Linked DNA regions of Homo sapiens: all the other regions are linked to region 5. Evidence: promoter capture Hi-C in 16 types of primary human blood cells and fetal thymus (Javierre and others, 2016). All regions are on one chromosome and are shown on one strand. Each heading gives the region's core, a stretch centred on a gene start or on the middle of the fragment in contact. The rest is flanking DNA. Distances are from core to core; before and after follow the strand shown. Region 1 has its middle 67 kb from the start of MRPL15. Region 2 has its middle 89 kb from the start of RNU105C. Region 3 has its middle 84 kb from the start of MRPL15. Region 4 has its middle 59 kb from the start of RNU105C. Region 5 holds the start of SOX17 (SRY-box transcription factor 17).

What was found. Contacts are between HindIII fragments. The CHiCAGO score rates a contact against its expected background, and 5 or more counts as called.
Region 1: a contact is called between a fragment that was not itself captured here and the fragment with the promoter of SOX17 in region 5, in 1 of 17 cell types (endothelial precursors). The highest score is 6.0, in endothelial precursors.
Region 2: a fragment that was not itself captured here is called in contact with the fragment with the promoter of SOX17 in region 5 in 1 of 17 cell types (endothelial precursors); the score reaches 6.1 in endothelial precursors.
Region 3: a fragment that was not itself captured here is called in contact with the fragment with the promoter of SOX17 in region 5 in 2 of 17 cell types (endothelial precursors and megakaryocytes); the score reaches 9.5 in endothelial precursors.
Region 4: a contact is called between a fragment that was not itself captured here and the fragment with the promoter of SOX17 in region 5, in 1 of 17 cell types (endothelial precursors). The highest score is 7.0, in endothelial precursors.

What each region holds. Positions count from the first base shown.
Region 1 is chr8:54,201,389-54,204,088 of GRCh38, reverse strand. No RefSeq gene overlaps it. Among named protein-coding and RNA genes, the nearest start is that of MRPL15, 67 kb to the right of the region's middle. The HindIII fragment of the contact is 6,346 bases long and covers 1-2,700 here.
Region 2 is chr8:54,240,746-54,243,445 of GRCh38, reverse strand. No RefSeq gene overlaps it. Among named protein-coding and RNA genes, the nearest start is that of RNU105C, 89 kb to the left of the region's middle. The HindIII fragment of the contact is 6,637 bases long and covers 1-2,700 here.
Region 3 is chr8:54,218,142-54,220,841 of GRCh38, reverse strand. No RefSeq gene overlaps it. Among named protein-coding and RNA genes, the nearest start is that of MRPL15, 84 kb to the right of the region's middle. The HindIII fragment of the contact is 3,499 bases long and covers 1-2,700 here.
Region 4 is chr8:54,270,740-54,273,439 of GRCh38, reverse strand. No RefSeq gene overlaps it. Among named protein-coding and RNA genes, the nearest start is that of RNU105C, 59 kb to the left of the region's middle. The HindIII fragment of the contact is 3,110 bases long and covers 1-2,700 here.
Region 5 is chr8:54,456,485-54,459,184 of GRCh38, reverse strand. It overlaps SOX17 (SRY-box transcription factor 17), which reads right to left and starts at 1,250. Exons shown (of 2, transcript NM_022454.4): 1 at 740-1,250; 2 at 1-127. The coding sequence starts at 1,046. The HindIII fragment of the contact is 4,543 bases long and covers 1-2,700 here.

The DNA of each region.
Region 1 (2,700 bases), core at 127-2,626, 260 kb after region 5:
TTCATCACTATCTTTAAAAGCTATACTAAACAAGCATATTCTTCAAAACTGGATAACCTGGATGACATGGACAAATTCCTGAAAACACATGATCTATCAAAATTGACTGATAAATAATTAGAAAATCTGAATAGACACAACTAGTAAGGAGATTGAATCAATAATCAAAACCTCTCAACAATATCAACAACAAAAAGCTGAGGAACAGATGGCTTTACTGGTGAATTACACCAAATGCTTTTTTTTTTTCCTGAGATAGGGTCTTGCTCTGTCACCCAGGCTGGAGTGCAGTGGTGTGATCACAGCTCACTGCTGCCTTTACTTCCTGGGCCCCAGCAATCCTCCCACTTAAGCCTCCCAAGTAGCTAGGACTACAGATACATGCCACCATGCCCAGCTAATATTTTTTAAAAATTTTTTTGTAGAGATAGTGACTCCCTACATTGCCCAGGCTGGTCTTGAACTCCTGAGCTCAGGTGATCCTCCTACCTTAGCCTCTCAAAATGCTGAGATTACAATCATTAGCCACCATGCCTGGACTATACCAAATACTTAACAATGAATTAACACCAATCCTTCTGAAACTCTTCCAAAAACTTGAAGAGGAGGTAATACTTCTTAAGTCATTCTCTGAGGCCAGCATGACCCTGATACTGAAGCCAGACAAAGATGTTGCCAAAAAAAGAAAACTGTAGGGTAATAACCCTTGTGAATATTAATGCAAAAATCCTCAAAAAAAAAATTAGCAAACCAAATTCAACAGCATATTAAAAGGATTAAACACCATGACTAAGTGGGATTTAATCTCGGAAAGCAAGAATGGTTCAATGGAGCAAGATGGCTGACCAGAAGCCTTTAGTGCTTGTCCCCCTCACAAAAACATCCAGAACAATGAATAAACGATAACATTGCAATAAAAATAACTGAAGGAGAGTGTCATTGTGCATCAGAGGAGTAATAGAAATCCGGGTGAGCACAGAAAATTGGAATGGCCACATAGAGAACCAAAGGAAACACTGAGCCTCCACCATCCCATTCCCTAACCAGGATGGGCTGGGAATGAGGAGAGACCTTCTCCTTTGGCAATGAGGTAAGAAAGAGGATCCCAGCAACCTGCATGAACACCTTGGACACCTACAGGCCTCACCGCTGGGGTCCCCTGCAGTCCTCACAGGAACTAAGCCCAGTGAGGGAACTGCCTGGAGACCACATAGCTGTGGTCCCACTAGAGAAGGCACCAACACTGTGCTCCACCTCCTGGGGCCTGCAAAACTACTGTGCTGTGCCATCTTGGATTTGAAACTATGGATGGAGAATGTCTTGTCCAGGAAGTGAGTACCCTTGGCTCGCCTTCATCCTTGAGGCTAAGCCACCACTGAGCTACTCCAGCCCAGTGGCCCAACATCCCCAAGCTCAGCTGTGAGCAGCTATTACACCCTTCCCTACGGAACCAAGCAGAGGCAAAGGTCCTCCACCTACTCCTCCCCAGCCCCTCAGGTCAGAGCTGAAGTGGTACCCTGTCTCCTGGGAAAAGACTACCTTGTACATGTATGGCACTCATACTTCTCTGGTACCTAAGTTGAAGCAGCACCCTGCATCCTAGAAAGTGGTGCCCTGACCACCCAGAGCAGTCACACACACACCAGTACCTAAGCCGCAGGGCATCCTGCATTCCAGGGAAATGGTTCCTGGGCCACCCAGAACAGTCCTGCCTTTCCAGGCCTGAGCTGAAGTAGCACATTGCCCCCTAAGGAACTGGTGCCCTGGATGAGCTGAGCAGCTCCACATCCCAAGGTTGAGCTGAAATAGTATCCGGTGTCCCAGAGAAATGGAGCAATGGCTGAGCTGAGACACTCAGCCCTACAGGCCAAACGGATCTAGTATTCTGCTTCCCTGGAGCTGGACTAGCCTACTAAAGTCTTAGCTGCTGAAACACCCCTCTTCCTGGGGAGTAGACTCATCACTGTGCTTTCTTCTGCCCTACTCCTCAGGGCCCAAATGATAGCTGTGCTCTGCCATTCTGGGGTACTTACTGCCACTGCACTTGCCCTCACTGAGTCTGAGATACTCCCAACCCTGACCATCTCAAGGCCTAGAGTCACTACTACATAGTACCTCATCCAATGGGACCTGAGTTATCACTGAGCCCTACTGGCTCAGCTTCCCAAATTGCAGCCATACCCTGCTTCCCAGGCTCAAACCTCTAAAGCATTCATTCCTTCCTCCCCAAACTCAGGCCAGGGTTGTGCCCTCCCCCCAGGGGTATAATCTCAGCAACAATTCCACCCCTGGGCCTGAGCTACTAGGGGGTGCCATAGAGTCACAGATCCTGGCTCTGTGGGCAACCTACATCTAACCCTGCCACAAAGAGCAAACCTGCACCCCAAGACCCAGGTGCCATGATAAGTTCATGAGACTGTGAACCGAAGACCACAACCCCACAACTGCTTAAAGCACTTGCACCTGTAATCCAGTGCCACTGCAGATGCTTGTAGGCTATGTCAGACCCAACACCAAGAGAGATCCCCTCAGCTAAGTCCCCTCATTGAGAAGAAAACAACAGGAGGACCACAAAAGCCCTTTATACTGAGGATATTAACAACCAATGCCACTATTGCCCCGTCACAAATTTTTACAGCCTAGGCCACTGAGATGTCCACAGTTATTACTGACATTGAACACAACAGAAGAAGCTGCATA
Region 2 (2,700 bases), core at 190-2,689, 220 kb after region 5:
AGTTGAAGCTACCTTCTACTTGGGTCTTTTTTGAATGACAGCCAATCCCGGCGAGTATACTCAACATTCGTGTCACAGGGATGTGGACATGAAGTCTGTTCAAGCCTTTCCTCTATGACGTGTGTGATTGGCCCCTGGAGGACTCTGCATGTCACTTAGTTCCTCCTGGTCCATGTCTCTCCATCCTGCCCAGTGAGTGCCTCCATCCTGATCTTCAAAGCCCTTTTCAGCCTGGGGGAAAGGCGAAGTAGTTCCTATTTCACTTCCTCCAACCATGAATCCACTTACCCATCCATGCTCCCATACTCATCCCCAATGTAAAAAAACACACACCAGTTCTTCTCACTTCCTTCTCCCACCCCCACGGTTGGGCTCTGGCCAGATGTAGGGGGAAGGAATAGAGGAGACAGCAACAATTCAGCCCCATCCTGAGTGTCAACAGAGTGCAAATTCTGGCAACTGCTCAATGGTGCATCTGAACAGGAGAACAAGGGCCTCCCCCAGAGTCATTCACCCAAATGGAACTCCATCTACCCAGCACCAGACAGCCCTGGTGGAAATCTGAGCACTGCCCAGCTATCAAGGAAGCCAGGAAGGGAAGAAGAGAGGAACAGGGACCCTGCGTGGAAATTCTAGGAGAGCAGGACTTTGGGGCACCCGTAGGCAATGTCCAGTTTGAAACAATGGTTCTCATCATTATCAAGAGCAGTACTCAAATGTTCATGTCAGCTTTCATCCACCCATGTGTCATTCAGAGTGCTTGCTCCAGACCAACTGGGCACTGCACATCCACGCAGCGCCCCAGGCGGCATCATAAGCCTCCTGTCAGGCACAGCGCAGTCAGCACCAAAGATTTGCACCTCTGCAGCCTGAGTGTCAAAAATGGACACTCATTGCCAACACCAGCAACTTATTAATTATCATGATGAATCCTAAAAGTGAGCTCTTACTGGTAAGAATAAAGGCAGTGAAGACAGGAGAAATCGGCCTGGTGTGGTGGCTCATGCCTGTAATCCCAGCACTTTGGGAGGCCAAGACAGGTGGATCCCCTGAGGTCAGGAGTTCCAACATCAACCTGGCCAACATGGTGAAACCCTGTCTCTACTAAAAATACAAAAATTAGCCGGGTGTGGTGGCACATGCCTGTAATCCCAGCTACTTGGGAGGCTGAGGTGGGAGGATTGCTTGAACCTGGGAGGCAGAGGTTGCAACGAGTTGAGAATGCGCCACTGCACTCCAGCCTGGGTGACAGAGCAAGACTGTCTCAAAAAAAAAAAAAAAAAAAAAAAAAAAAAAGACAGGAGAAATGGTTCACAAAGTTCTCAGTTTGAGAAGAGAAAATAGTTCTGGAAGCCAGTGGTGGTGGTAATGGTTGCATACAACGTGAATGTACTTGATGCCACTGTCCTGTACACTTGAAAATGGTTAAAATGGTAAATTTTGTGTTATGTATGTTTTACCACAATAAAAATTTTTTTTAAGGTTTAGACATGGCCCATCCTTGCACAAACAGGGAATAACAGTAAACCTTGTCCCCAGCACCCTTCAGAATGGCCCCTGAGGCTCCTTCTCTGCTCTGTTCTCCCCTCCCCATTGCTTTAGATGGATTCCTGAATGCTTCATGTCAACAAGCAGATTCCAAGTTAGGCTCTAGATCAGGGGTTGGCTGACTTTTGCAGTAAAGGCCAGAAAGCAAATATTTTAGGCTTTGTGGACCACACAGTCTCTATTGCAACCACCCAACTCTGCCAGTATGTCAGGAAAGATGTGACAGGCAACACCCAAATGTTCCAACATTTCATTTATAAGAATTTGGCCCACAGCTTAGTCTGCCATTCCCTGATGCAGATCCTCAGAATGTGCTGTCTCCCTTGAGTAGTCTTCTCAGGCCAGCTGAGGCCAGAGATCTGGAGCTTGCTTTGCTTAACGTCTACATGGGAGACACTCTGGCTAAGGGTCCTTCCCTCACAATCTGGAAGTGGAGTGGGGCTGGGGCAGGAGCCCTCACACCTCAGACTTCTGGGTGGTACCAGCATCTGCCTCAAAGAACCCAAGAGCTGTGTGTGGCCACATGGTCTGAGGTCCCTTCACAACACCGAGAAGTAATGGAGAGCAAACCCCACAAAGGTCCTGCCCCAGCCTGGGATACAGGAGAGAATGGATGCAAAATGTAAATAATTGCTCAAGAACTTATAAAGTAATAACTGTGATAGGGTTATAAAGGAAAGCTATTTGAGAATGGGCAAAAAAGGTAACCTATGGATTAGAATCCCTGGGTGCAGAAACAGATCTCTGACCCAAGCAGGTCTTTAGTGCACTTCAACCAGCACTAACTCAGCAGTGGGCACACCTGTTGGGGGAAAAGACTTCAGGGAGGAACTGAATTGATGTAGGCCTCCAAACCGCGGCTTTCCAGAAGGACACCTTGGCTGCTTGTGTCTGTGTGTGTGTGTGTGTGTGTGTGTGTGTGTGTGTGAGTCTTACCAGGCTTGCCAAGGACTGCCCAAATCTACACAACAAAGCAGTTACCTTTCGCCAGTGACTATGGCAGAGAAAGAGCTCAGGACTCAAGCCGGTACTTCTGAGCAAGGTACTGCAATGCTCAGAGCTTGACTTCACACAATATTTTCTTCCCTCTGCAACCCTTGATCTCTCTTCTGGGTTTGATCTCTCTATGACTATATCAGCACACATCCTGAA
Region 3 (2,700 bases), core at 45-2,544, 240 kb after region 5:
AAATAAGACAGCCAGGCATGGTGATTCTTGCCTCTAATCTCAGCACTTTAGGAAGCTGAGGCAGACAGACCACCTGAGGTCAGAAGTTCGAGATCAGCCTGGCCAATATGGTGAAACCCCGTCTCTACTAAAAATACAAAAATTAGCTAGGCACGCTGGAGCATGCCTGTAATCCCAGCTACTCGGGAGACTAAGGCAGGAGGATCGCTTGAACCCGGGAGGCAGAGGTTGCAGTGAGCCGAGATCATGCCACTGCACTCCAGCCTGGGCAACACAGTGACACTCTGTCTGAAAAATAAAATAAAATAAGACTACCCCAGAAAATTCCAAATATATAATCTCCATAATCATGTACTGCATGTATTGTGTAGTTGGTTTAAAATGTTTTGAAAACATCCACCAAAAATGCAGGCATCAGAGCAGAGGGAGTAACTGGCTTCCTCATTCTTACAAACAACACCAGAAGTGGCACTTAAGGCAGCCACCAATTTAACTCAGTTCTCTGTGCTATCCCAGCTGGGTCATTTTTAATTGTTGGTTCAGTTTTACAAAGTGAACGTGAGCGTCAATCTTTCTAAAGTCTTTCATGACTCAAATCTACACAAAATTGTTTTGAGTAAAGAAGGAGGATCCAAGAAATAAAGGCATTTTACAGAAATGACAGAAAAAAATAAGATCCTTTGATTACATTGGTAGAAAAAAACTAATTTAAATTATGAGATAAAGCTGAGGAAGAAACCAACCGTGACTGCAAGTAGCACTAAGTACTTAGCATCCAGTGCCTTCTTAGATTTATCTCGGTTAGAGCACCAATAAATCATAGTGTCTAATGCAGATTCCTGAAAGGGAGCTGGAGAGCCCTGGTCCGGTCCTCACACTCTGTGGGAGGCGGCAGCCACTCCTTCCTGCCATCTGTCTAATGAACCATATGAATAAATGGCTGTTTCTCCACTCTGCTGCCCATTAGAATCACCTAGGGAGTTTTATAAACATACCAATACCCCAATCCTCACCCCTCAAAAATTCTAGAACAATTAAGCTGGACCCTGGTGGTAGATCTTGGGCATCAGTATTTTTAAAAAGCCCCCCGAGTGACCAAGGTGTTGCCAGAATTGAGAATTCCTAGAGGAGCTCAGTGATTTCTGTGTTTTTTTTTTGTTTTTTTTTTTTTTTGAGACAGAATCTCGCTCTGTCGCCCAGGCTGGAGTGCAGTGGCATGATCTCAGCTCACTGCAACCTCCGCCTCCCGGGTTTAAGCGATTCTCCTGTCTCAGCCTCCCAAGTAGCTGGGATTACAGGTGCGTACCACCACACCCAGCTAATTTTTGTATTTTTAGTAGAGATGGGGGGGTTTCATCATATTGGTCAGGCTGGTCTCAAACTCCTGACCTCAGGTGGTCTGCCCACCTCGGCCTCCCAAAGTGCTGGGATTACAGGCATGAGCTACCACGTCCAGCACGTTCTTTTTAAAAGTCTTAGATCTCTATTTCATGGGCACCTCTCCCTTGGTCTCCCAGTCCAGAAAGAAACTCCAGAAAGTCAGGAGCCTCCTTTCGTTTTCAACTGTGAAACATACAAGGGCAGAGACACCACATGCGAAGGCAAAAGCAACATTGACAAGGGAAAATGTGATGTTTTTGTTTGTTTTAAAGGGGAATTCTAAATTAACTCTTAAAGTGTGTTTGGGGCTTCAGGTGCACTGGAAGGTCTTCCCTGGAGCAAGGAGCAAGGAGCAGGGACAGAGCCCCTGGGCAGGGGTGAGTGCTCTGCCTGGAGACAGCCCTCAGCACTCACGTGGGAAACTGCTCAAGGCAGCCCAGAGTCCCTGCAACAAACTTCATGCCCAAGGAGTGAGCAGTTTCTCTAAATACAATAGAACCTCTGCCACTTTGAAGATAAGCTCTCACAGGCTGCTTAAAACAATAATTCTGTACTTTCTTTCCTGTTTCTAGATTTATTTTAAGTATTAGTATAAAATGTCAGAGCAGCTGATAGCAGCCAGATCAGTTTGTATAAAGCCTGACTGCCTGTTTGTAGTATATTACAGCTATATTTGACACAGGAAAGCACTTAATCATGCCTGCTATCAGCACACCACACCCACCTTTGTGAGGACCCTCAGGGGCTGTGAGATTTATCACTGTGAACTTGAACTGGATGGACAGGCCCTAATGGATAATGCAGGCTGCTTCTGAGAACTTCGGGCTAAAAGTGTACCATCCACAACCCCAGTGCCAAGAGAAAGGTCAGGAACACCAAGCACCTCCCAGGACTGGCCTCAATAGATCCAACCTATGCCCTGAATTTTATCTCAAGCAGTTGAAGTCTGACGAGTATAAATCTGAGGACATGGTAAGAAACTCCTTCTGCTCCATTTTGCCCCAAAATTGCCTCTCCTGAGGGCCCATTAGCCACGTTTTCGTCTTCACACCAACTGATAAACACTAGTGCTCAGATAGAAAAGGCTAGTAGCATTTCTGCAGGGTTCTTGCAGTTAGCCAACCTCTTCACCGAGTCCCTCTGCACCTCGAGGGACCCTGGGAGGCTGGCGCAGCAGAAGTGGTGGTGCTGTCCAATTCACATATGGGATATTTAAGGCCCACAGAGCTAAGGGAGGTGACCAAGGGGGACCGCAACCCAGAAGTCCTGTCCCTAAATCCTTCCTCTTAAATGTGATGCCATTGGCCCACTGGGTCTGCT
Region 4 (2,700 bases), core at 75-2,574, 190 kb after region 5:
CTATCAACCCACCCCCAACACTCCCATCCAAACTAGAACTGTCCTCATCATGGGGGAAGCAAGATCTTTTTTTTGCCTGGTTCCCAAATGCACTGGCTTCTTAGAGTCACATGTATACTTTCTTTCTCTTCTGCAATCCAAATCCCTACACAGGATTTAAGCCCACTCATTAGACCCCTGGGATGTTTTCAGTGTATTCTATTGCTTACAAATTCCATTCATTTTTCACTGATTCAAATCTCACTTTTCACACTTTTTTTTATCCATTCTACAAGCACTCACTCAGTATGCTTTCTATACCCTTCAGGGAACATACAGTTTAGTAGGAAGGATAACCAAAAAAAAAAAAAAAGAGAGAGAGAGAGAAGAAAGTAACAGATAGAAAGAAAAAACATCTATAAAAAAAGGCTTTTGCAGCTAATGACTTTTTTGATCACTCCTCAAAGACTTACATGGCTAGTCCTGGGGACCAGCGCTGCAATGGCAAGATAGGAGGGAGGCCATGCAGGTTAGCAAGGGCCTAATGACAAATCACGAATCTCCATGCCTGGCCAAGAACTTTGGACTTGACAGAAGGGCGATAGGAATCCCTTGAAAGGTTTAAGCAGAGCAACGGCATGAAAATACTTACATTCCAAGGAAATTACTCAGGAGGCAGTTGGAGGCAAAGGAGAAAATTGGAATAAGTGATGGTGGAGACATGAGATAAGGTAACAGCAAAGAGAATGGAAGACTAGATACATCTGGGAAATATTTATCACAAGGAAGTGGAAATGAGGAATCAACAAGACTTGGTGATGGATTGAATGGGAACAGCGAGGAAAAGACCAAGGGTAACTTCTAGGTATCTGGCTTGAACCACTTTATTAAGAGAAAGGCCGGGCACCGTGGCTCACACCTGTAATCCCAGCACTTTGGGAGGCCGAGGCAGATGGATAACCTGAGGTCAGGAGTTCGAGACCAGCCTGGCCAACATGGTGCAACCCCGTCTCTACTAAAAATACAAAAATTAGCCAGGCGTGGTGGCAGGCACCTGTAATCCTAGCTAATCAGGAGACTGAGGCAGGAGAATTGCTTGAACCCGGGAGGCAGAGGTTGCAGTGAGCCGAGATTGCACCACTGCACTCCAGCCTGGGCGACAAGAGCAAAACTCCGTCTCAAAAATAAAAAAATTGAAAAAAAGAGAGAAGGAGCCCACCGAGAAGAGAATGGACTGGAAAGGAAGACATGAACATAGGTTGGGACCTGTGGAGTTTGAAGAACCTATTTAACACCCAAATAATGATATCCAACAAACAACAGAGGTTGGGATCTGGGTTTCAGGAAAGAAATTCAGGCTGCAAATGTAAAGATGGAGACCTTCAGCATATAGAGGCCACAGGTAGTTTCTGGGAAGAAGATTCCGAGATGGAGGTTGTTGTCCATGGAGAAGCTCTTAGGGTCAACACGTGGGAAAATGAAGGAAGCCAGCTCAGGCACGTGAAGAAGCTGAACCATGATCCAGTCACAACAAAGGCTTCCCCTGATCTCAAAGGGAGCTTTGTGGGTGGAGATGGCCCTTCAGAATTGACCTGAATTGAGGTGAGAAATTGGGCCTTCAAACAGGTCATGGGATGTGGCTTCCCTTGGGAAGGGCCATGACCTTGGGCCAGGAGTTTGTCTTACACTGAGAGCCAGAAAGGGACTCAACTGAGAGGGGTTCCTACAGACTCTTTTCCCCCGGCACTGTCCATCACAGAGACAATTTAAAGAGCTTGGGCTTGAAGTAGATGACCCTCCCCGCTCCCAGAGACTGTGTAGCCTGCAGAGACCCCAGGAAGGGCAGAAGAGAAAGTTTGCAGGGATGTGCAGTGGAAGACAGGCTTCTGAGGAGGCTGAAAAGAGTTTATTGAGAGTTCAGAGGACCAGCAGTGTTCAGGGGCCACTGAGAGAGAGATTCAGCCAAAAAGGAGTGAATTAATACCCAAGTTAAATGCCACAGGAGTGTAGCAAGGGAAGAAGGAAAAGTGTACCATGAATTTGGCAAGAAAGAGGTCATTATTCAATTCCAAGGAGTGGAGAAGCCTCTGAGTTGAGGCTTAGATAAGAGAAGTGAAGACAGCATGCAGCAGGGGTAGAGAGGAACAGGAGAGGGATTCTTGTTGTTTTTTTTTTAAGTTGGGAAAAACTTAATCATGCTTAAATCCTAATGGATAGAGGGGGCAATTGACATTATAGCAAAATATAACTTCTTCTTTTTTTTTTTTTTTTTTTTGTGACAGAGTTTCACTCTTGTTGCCCAGGCTGGAGCGCAATGGCACAATCTCGGCTCACTGCAACCTCTGCCTCCTGGGTTCAAGCGATTCACCTGCCTCAGCCTCCCGAGTAGCTGGGATTACAGGCATGCGCCACCATGCCCTGCTAATTTTGTATTTTTAGTAGAGACAGGGTTTCTCCATGTTGGTCAGGCTGGTCTCGAACTCCCAACCTCAGGTGATCCTCTCGCCTCGGCCTCCCAAAGTGCTGGGATTACAGGCATGAGCCACCGTGCCAGGCCAACTTCTTTTAAACAAAAAAGAGAGACAGAGAGAGACAGGATCTCACTCTATCACCCAGGCTGGAGGGCAGTGGCATGATCATAGCTCATGGCAACCTCAAGCGATCCTCCCACCTCAGCCTCCTGAGTAGCTGGGACTACAGCTGCATGCCACCACGCCCAGC
Region 5 (2,700 bases), core at 1-2,500:
ACCTGCTTGCGCCGCCGCGGCCGGTACTTGTAGTTGGGGTGGTCCTGCATGTGCTGCACGCGCAGCCGCTCTGCCTCCTCCACGAAGGGCCGCTTCTCCGCCAGCGTCAGCGCCTTCCACGACTTGCCTGCACAGTGGAAGGAAGGGGGAGAGGGGCGCAGGGCTTATCGGCTGCGCTCCCGCTCCAGGCCCCACCTGGCCCCACCTGGACGCACCTCCCCCCTCAGACTTTGAATTGCGCAACCGGGGTGAAGTTAAAGAGGGAGATCTGGGACTCCTGAGTCCGAGCCCTTGGGGAACACCCGTCCTCTAAAGGCACCCCTTTCTTTTGGTCTCCTGGAAGCGGCTTTCCGCTCACCCATCACCCGGTCGTTCGAAAAACAGAAAAGGACACCTAACTAGGGAAGGGGTCGAGGGATGGACACAACCGGCCCAGTTCAGGGCCAAGGGTGCTCTCGCGCCGCCCGGAGGTGCCGGGAAGTCGCCTTCCCAGAGCCGTTGGACCCGCGCCCCCGGCCACCTGGGGAATCCGGGAGCCGGAGAGCAAGGCGGAAAGCTGCTTTGGAGGGTCGGAGGGCGGGAAGCGGGAAGGGAACCCAGAGCCTTAAGAAAGGACGTGGCCGCTACACACCCCTGGTTTTGGGCGTCAGGCTCGCAAAGAACAGTTTGGGGTTTAAGAAATCGGCCTAGCGATTCGCGCCAGCGCGCCCGGCCGCCTGGGTCTGCGACTCGGACTCACCCAGCATCTTGCTCAACTCGGCGTTGTGCAGGTCTGGATTCTGCTGCGCCAGCCGCTTGCGCTCGTCCTTAGCCCACACCATGAAAGCGTTCATCGGCCGCCGGATACGGGACTCGCCCTTGGCTCGGCCCGCGGCCCCGGCCGGTGCTCCGCTGTTCGCCGGCGCCTCGCCCTTCACCTTCATGTCCCCGATGGGGCTCAGCGACTCGGCCCAGGGGCAGGGGCCCAGCCCGGCCATCACCGCGGGCAGCGCGCTCTGGGTCTGGCTCTGGTCGTCACTGGCGTATCCCGCATCCGGGCTGCTCATGGCGCTCCAGGCCTGCCCCGCTCCCCTCAACCCTCCGCCGGACGCGCCGCCTCCCCCGACCCGGGGGAGGGGGTGGGGAGTGAGGCACTGAGATGCCCCGAGGGCTGCGCGGGTCTCCCGGCCCGAAGCCGCCGCCCGTGTTCTGGCCTGTCGCGGTCTGGTCTACAGCGTACCCAGGGCCCCCAGCCGGCCTAGTGACACTGCGGGCGCCCCTGGGCCGCGGGGCCTTTTCTGCACAGATGTGGCCAATGGAGCGGCGAGGGCGGGCCGGTCCCGCGTCGTTAGGCCCACGCCCAGGCCGTGGTCCGAGTCCCACGTCCCAGTCCAACCCCACGCCCGCCCCTTGCCCCTCCCCCGGCCCCGCGCCCAAGGCTACACCTGCCCCCGGGAAAACTAGCCGGAGCTGGGCTCTGGCGCCGCGTCCTCTCCCACCGGGGTTAGGGAGACTCGAAAAGCCGTCTGGGAGGGCTGATTGTACCTTGGAATCGACGTACTTGCCCAAGGTCGTTTAGATGAACATACCGAGCGTCCATTCTATTCTCTTTAAAGCACATCTTTTTGCAGAAGCCGAGGGTGTTTCAGTGGTGGGTGACCTAGTTTACTTCCAAGGAACTGCATGGGCATCTTCAAATGTGTTTTCTCAAATGCGAAAGACACCGTTGATAATAAATTTAAAAATACAATTTTTCCCCCAGGACTCAACTTGCCTGTGTTATATTCAAAATGCTGTGTCCAAGATAAATCCTAATTTTCTAAAGCAAGATTAAATATGGAACGACGTTCTGTATCCAATATTCCTTCACTCTAAAGAATAAAGCATTTACTCATGACAAGCCAACCAGTTTTTATGTGTATCTTATTATACACATCATGTGAAAGTACGAAAATGTATACATGATGTATATAAGATACGCATAACAAAACTGTTTCTCGTATGTGTTCAGTAACAGGTGAGCCTTAATACTGATTTCTAAAATGTAAAGACAGCAGCAATATTTGTCTAAATGTCCGAGTTTGTTTGGGGGAAGAGAACAATCTGTTTTAGCTGCAAAGTAACTGTGGTTCTTACAGTCAGTTTAAAGCGGTTATTCTGGCAGATAATTAGATTTCTATAAGTTTCTTTAGACTGGAATGAAATCTGAATGACTATTAAACTTGTGTTTCGATCTGGAAAAAAAAAAAGTTTTCAGTGGGACTTTTAAAACAAGCCGTTATACAACACTGAGAAATGACACAGCCTGCCACTGCTATTCCTAGCGCCCTCCAGCATTAGCAAAGAAGCATATCCTCATATTAACCCTGAGGTAGACTCTATCTTACAGGAAAGGAAACGGAGGCAGAGAAGTTAAGGAACTTGCTGGAGACTACAGCGTTGAGAAGGTGGAATTCACACCCAGCAGTCCGCCTTCAGACTTGCAGCTCTTAATAATCACTAAGCCAGGCTGTTGTGTTTGTGTATTTGTGTTGGTTTTTGAGGGCAACTAACAGCCATTCCTGCATAATTAGAGATAACTTTGCAAAGAAATCAATATACGAATCTCCAGAACAGATTTTCTTTATTATGAAGGCGTGATAAAAAAGTAGAGCTTACACCTGGAATCTGAGAAGTAAAATGCTGCTGCTTTGAGTGTGATACTACAACAACAAGACCGTC